Linked DNA regions of Homo sapiens: region 2 is linked to region 1. Evidence: promoter capture Hi-C in 16 types of primary human blood cells and fetal thymus (Javierre and others, 2016). All regions are on one chromosome and are shown on one strand. The core of a region is centred on a gene start or on the middle of the fragment in contact, and the rest is flanking DNA. Distances in the headings are between cores, read along the strand shown. Region 1 holds the start of SIGLEC10 (sialic acid binding Ig like lectin 10). Region 2 overlaps SPACA6 (sperm acrosome associated 6).

Region 1 (2,765 bases), core at 165-2,664:
AGCATCCAGTTCATTTAGGGGACCTTCTGTACTTTGTTTCTAAGAATCTTCATTTGCTAACCTGGGGCCCTGGAGCTGACTCACCATGGAGGATTCACCTCCAAGTCCCCCTAAAGCTCAGTGCTTGATACCCAAGGTATGTGGAGGTTGAAGGATGAGTTCTGTGTTTCGGTGTGACCCAAACAGAGTCATTTCAGGAAGAGCTCAGTGAGGGGAAAACATCTTGTAGAGTTTACTCCATTCATTGCAAATTACCCCTTCCCTAGTCTGTTCCCCCCACTCTGCCCCTCACTCCCGCCTTCCTCAAACTCTTCCCATCAGCATTAGCTTTGGACATATGTGTTCTAATCCCAATGGGTGTCCCAATTGAATGACAGAGGAGGAAGGGAGACTGGGAAGTGGACTAGGGCCTGGTTGGGGCAGGAGACTGCTTCTGGGGACCAAGGGTCAGTGAGCTCACCAGGAAGCATGAAGAGGTGGAGCTGACACCACCCTACGGTGGCCAGATTTAGAAAAAAAGAAATTCAACATGCTCAGTTAAATTTGAATTTTAGGCCAGGTGCGGTGGTTCACACCTGTAATCTCAGCACTTTGGGAGGTCAAGGCAGGTGGATCATTTGAGGTCAGGAGTTCAAAACCAGCCCTGCCAACATGGTGAAACCCCACCTCTACTAAAAATACAAAAATTAGCTTGGCGTGGTGGCGCGTGCCTGTAAGCCCAGACTCAGGAGGCTGAGGCAGGAGAATCACTTCAGCCTGGGAGGTGGAGGTTGCAGTAAGCAGAGATTGCACCACTGCACTGCAGCCTGGGTGACAGAGTGAGACTCTGTCTCAAAATATAATTAATTAATTAATTAATTTGAATTTCAGATAAATTTATTTTGCTTTCTGGTATAAGTATATCCCATGCAGCATTTCGGACATACTTATACCAAAAAACATAAAATAAAATACTTTATATTGTCTGTGAAAGCTTTAACCAGGCATCCTGCATTTTACCTGACAAGACCAGCCCCCTCCAGTAACGGTCCCTTCCCCTGTACCCACCACCTCCACCACCAGTGGCCCAGATAAGGGTAGCTCACTGTGGACTTCTCACTTCTGCTTTTCCGATGACCCAGGGCCCAGAGGGAGAGCCCCCACCCCACTACCCCACCCCCAGCCAGGCCCCCAGGATAGACACAAGCCTGCCCTCTCCTCCTACACAGGGAGCTCTGGAAGGACCAGCTCAACAAGCCCAAGGCCAGGCTGGGCCCCCAGGAGACCCAGAGGACAACTGGGCAAGGTGGGCCGGAGAGTGTGGGGGAAGGCAAAGGAGTTCTGTGAGCTCAGCGTCTGAAGCTCATTTCATGCATCAGGCCCCAGGGCTCAGCTTCCGCCTTCGGCTTCCCCTTCTGCCAAGAGCCCTGAGCCACTCACAGCACGACCAGAGAACAGGCCTGTCTCAGGCAGGCCCTGCGCCTCCTATGCGGAGATGCTACTGCCACTGCTGCTGTCCTCGCTGCTGGGCGGTGAGTGGGCCAAGGGCCGGAAAGGACCTGGGGCGGAGCTAGGGCTGGGGTTGCAGGTTGAGCCTCTGTCTCCCCACAGGGTCCCAGGCTATGGATGGGAGATTCTGGATACGAGTGCAGGAGTCAGTGATGGTGCCGGAGGGCCTGTGCATCTCTGTGCCCTGCTCTTTCTCCTACCCCCGACAGGACTGGACAGGGTCTACCCCAGCTTATGGCTACTGGTTCAAAGCAGTGACTGAGACAACCAAGGGTGCTCCTGTGGCCACAAACCACCAGAGTCGAGAGGTGGAAATGAGCACCCGGGGCCGATTCCAGCTCACTGGGGATCCCGCCAAGGGGAACTGCTCCTTGGTGATCAGAGACGCGCAGATGCAGGATGAGTCACAGTACTTCTTTCGGGTGGAGAGAGGAAGCTATGTGAGATATAATTTCATGAACGATGGGTTCTTTCTAAAAGTAACAGGTATGGAATGGGGTGGGAACCCCTGCCTCTCACACTGGGGAGGGACCCTGGGGACAGCCTATGGGCTGAGCAGAGAGGGCTCTCAGGGACCCCTGCAGCACAAGAATCTCCCACCACGGTCTCTGTCCCAGCCCTGACTCAGAAGCCTGATGTCTACATCCCCGAGACCCTGGAGCCCGGGCAGCCGGTGACGGTCATCTGTGTGTTTAACTGGGCCTTTGAGGAATGTCCACCCCCTTCTTTCTCCTGGACGGGGGCTGCCCTCTCCTCCCAAGGAACCAAACCAACGACCTCCCACTTCTCAGTGCTCAGCTTCACGCCCAGACCCCAGGACCACAACACCGACCTCACCTGCCATGTGGACTTCTCCAGAAAGGGTGTGAGCGCACAGAGGACCGTCCGACTCCGTGTGGCCTGTGAGTGTGGCCTGGGAGGGTGGGGTGTGCAGACAGCCCCGGTGGGTGGGGAGGTGGAGGAGCCCAGTGGGACAGTGAGCGGCTCCCAGCTCAGGAGCATCCAGGGAGAGGAAGCTGTGGGGTCCCAGGATGCCGCCGCAGCCCTGGGAGGGGGATGGGAATGGCGTCTGGTCCACACACGTGAGCCCTGGCGCTGGTTGTCACTTGTCTTCCCGGGATAGTCCCACTTTCTTTTCCCTGAGGGAGTTTTTTCCAGGTGTGAGGAATAAATTGTCCCTCCCTGAAGCCAGCTCACAATCTTGTTGCAGATGCCCCCAGAGACCTTGTTATCAGCATTTCACGTGACAACACGCCAGGTACTGAGGGCCGTCGGGC
Region 2 (2,885 bases), core at 243-2,742, 280 kb before region 1:
TGAGCATTCCACTAGGAGGTCAGGCCCAGGACTGCTGCCAGCCTTCTACTTGGGGTTTAGAGGGAAACACACTGGTTTTCTGTAGGCCCTGATGGGGATGGGCAATCCAGGTGTATTCCACCGAGGAGGCGGGGCTAGATCCTGGGCGATCCTTGCAGGAGACCAAGGCTAAGGTGGTGGCCCAGTTAGAGAAGAGGCGTGGCCAGGTTAGTAGTAGTCCCGGAAAGGGGCTCAGTTGGAGACGAAACCTTTCATCGAAGGGGCGGGGCCAGATCAAAAATGGTCCACGCGGGGAAATAGTCGTCCCTCAAGGTCTGAGGCTCAGAGATGGGGCCAGGGGATTGTACGGGGAGTGGATGGGGGGTCTCAGGAGTGGGTTTCGTTTTGAGATGGAGTCTTGCTCTGTCACCCAGGCTGGAGTGCCGATCTCGGGTCACTGCAACCCCGCCTCCAGGGTTCAAGCAATTTTCCTGCCTCAGCCTCCTGAGTAGATGAGATTACAAGCATGCGTTACCACGCCCAGCTAATTTTAGTATCTTTAGTAGATATGGGTATCACCATGTTGGTCAGACTGCTTTTGAACTCCTGATCTCAAGTGATCTGCCCGCCTCAGCCTTCCAAAGTGCTGGGATTACAGGCGTGAGCCACCATCCCCGGCCAAAAGTGGGGTTTTCTAATTGTGTGTGTGTGTGTCTGGGGAAGGAGAGATGGAGTGTATTTTACCTTCTTTAAGCTGTGTAATGACCTTCTTCATTTTCTCCGCAGCATCAGGGAAGGCAACCTCAAAGGATCCTGGAGAGTGGAGGGGAGGACGGCCTGTGTAGTAAAGCCCTTCCCCCAGGGCTTGGTCCTTGGTCCTGCATTCTGATCTAGCCTGGCTAGGGCTAGGCTGGCCCTAGCTCACAGGACGTACTGTCATGGTATCTGCCCTTCCCTGGCCCCTCTTCACCCCTCTCATTACCATATTCTCTGCTCCTCTTCTCATCACCCGCCCTCTGTAGTTGAAGGCTAACAAGTCCCTAAGTCTCCTTTCTTCTGCCTCCTGAATCTCTCCAGGATGGAAGTCCTCCTGGACATCACCTGCATGTAGCTTGTTGGGGGGAGAAGGGGAGGATAAAGATCAAATTCCTCACCAAGGCCTATTAGGTCTTACATGGTTTGGCCTAGTTCCCCCTCCCTCCCTGTCCCATCCCTACTGCCCACCTTTCATTTCCTTTATTTTATTTTATTCAGACAGTGTCTCACTGTCACCCAGGCTGGAGTGCAGTGGTGCGATCTCGGCTCACCGCAACCTCCGCCTCCTGGGTTCAAGTGATTCTCCTGCCCTAGCCTCCCGAGTAGCAGGGACTGCAGGTGTGCACCACCACGCCTGGCTAATTTTTGTGTTTTTAGTAGAGATGGGGTTTCACCATGTTGGCCAGGCTGGTCTCGAACTCCTGACCTCAAGTGATCCACCCACCTCAGCCTCCCAAAGTGCTGGGGTTACAGGCATGAGCCACCGTGCCTGGCCTCATTTCCTTTAATATGAAAACCACCACATTCCCTAGCACCTCAGGGCCTTTGCACATGCTGGCTTGTTTTTAGCACATTTTTCCTTCTCCTAATCATCCTTCCATCACCACAAATCTAACCAAGTTCCCTGTTTTTGTCTCTCATCGCAATCATTTCATTCCTAGCTCTCATCTGTCTGCAATTACATATATTTATATATAGATGATGATCACTTATGTCTGTCTCGTAAGTAAATAAACATGTTCTTCTGTAGCACTGTGTCCTCTGGATCCTGGAGAGGGCCCTCAGTCTTAGAAGTGCTCAGTAAGTATTTGTACAATGAATTCCAGGATCCAACTTGAACTGGAGACCCCAGCTGGTGGCCTATGACCCAAATCCATCCCTGGGATGTGTTATATTTGGCCTGGAAAGTGTTTAAAAGAAAATGAACCAGTTGCCAACATATAAAATTTGGAATGTCAAATAAAACGTTTGGCATCTCTTTTTTACAAAGTTGGAAGAGCTGTAACACAGAGATCGCATTTCCATAAGGCAGCAATTAGCTGGAGATGGGTAGCAGTCACTCCCTTGAAATGGGGCACACACCGGCCACTTCTCCATAGTCCCCAGCCTCTATTCACTTCTATATTTACCCATCTTTTACTCTTTTATGTTCCTTGTCTTTGTAGGTGTTTGTTTTGTTTTGAGATAGAGTCTCGCTCTGTTGCCCAGGCTGGCGTACAGTGGTGTGATCTTGGCTCACTGCAACTTCCACCTCCCAGGTTCAAGTGATTCTCCTGCCTCAGCCTCCCCAGTAGCTAGGATTACAGGCACCCACCACCATGCTCGGCGAATTTTTATATTTTTAGTAGAGATGGGGTTTCACCATGTTGGCCAGGCTGGTCTCAAACTCCTAACCTCAGGTGATCCGCCTGCCTCGGCCTCCCAAAGTGCTGGGATTACAGGTGTGGGCCACCATGCCTGGCCTTGTGTTTTGACCACTGCAATGGCCTCCAAATTGTATGGGTTTGTGGCTTGTTCCAGTGGAATAAGAATAGACAGCTGACTTGATCTCGTGGTGATTTGTGGAAATCAGTAATGTGGCAGGGTTTTATCGGCTAAATCGTGCCGCCCACCCCCCATCCCCCGCAACCAAACTTGTATGTTGAAGTCCTAACTCCCAGTACCTCAGAATGTGACTGTACTTGGTTCTTAAAGAGGTGATTAAGTTAAAATGAGGTCATTAGGGTGGGCTGTAATGCAGTATGATTGGTGTCCTTATGAGAAGAGGAAATTAGGACACAGAGATGCACACAGGGACATATGAAGGAAGGCATCTACAAGCCAAAGAGAGAGGCGTGAGAAGAAACTAACCCTGCTGACACCAAAACCTT

What was found. The method cuts DNA at HindIII sites, captures the fragments that hold promoters and counts their contacts. A CHiCAGO score of 5 or more calls a contact.
Region 2: a contact is called between a fragment that was not itself captured here and the fragment with the promoter of SIGLEC10 in region 1, in 1 of 17 cell types (erythroblasts). The highest score is 5.1, in erythroblasts.

The regions. Positions count from the first base shown.
Region 1 is chr19:51,416,291-51,419,055 of GRCh38, reverse strand. SIGLEC10 (sialic acid binding Ig like lectin 10) reads left to right here and starts at 1,414. Exons shown (of 11, transcript NM_033130.5): 1 at 1,414-1,511; 2 at 1,591-1,974; 3 at 2,106-2,390; 4 at 2,699-2,746. The coding sequence starts at 1,475. SIGLEC10-AS1 (SIGLEC10 antisense RNA 1) reads right to left here. Exons shown (of 3, transcript NR_164125.1): 2 at 2,326-2,627; 3 at 859-1,924. RefSeq lists enhancers at 1,185-1,254, 1,315-1,484. The HindIII fragment of the contact is 3,908 bases long and covers 976-2,765 here.
Region 2 is chr19:51,699,565-51,702,449 of GRCh38, reverse strand. SPACA6 (sperm acrosome associated 6) reads right to left here. Exons shown (of 9, transcript NM_001316972.2): 3 at 724-792. Among named protein-coding and RNA genes, the nearest start is that of SPACA6-AS1, 7.6 kb to the right of the region's middle. The HindIII fragment of the contact is 3,108 bases long and covers 1-2,885 here.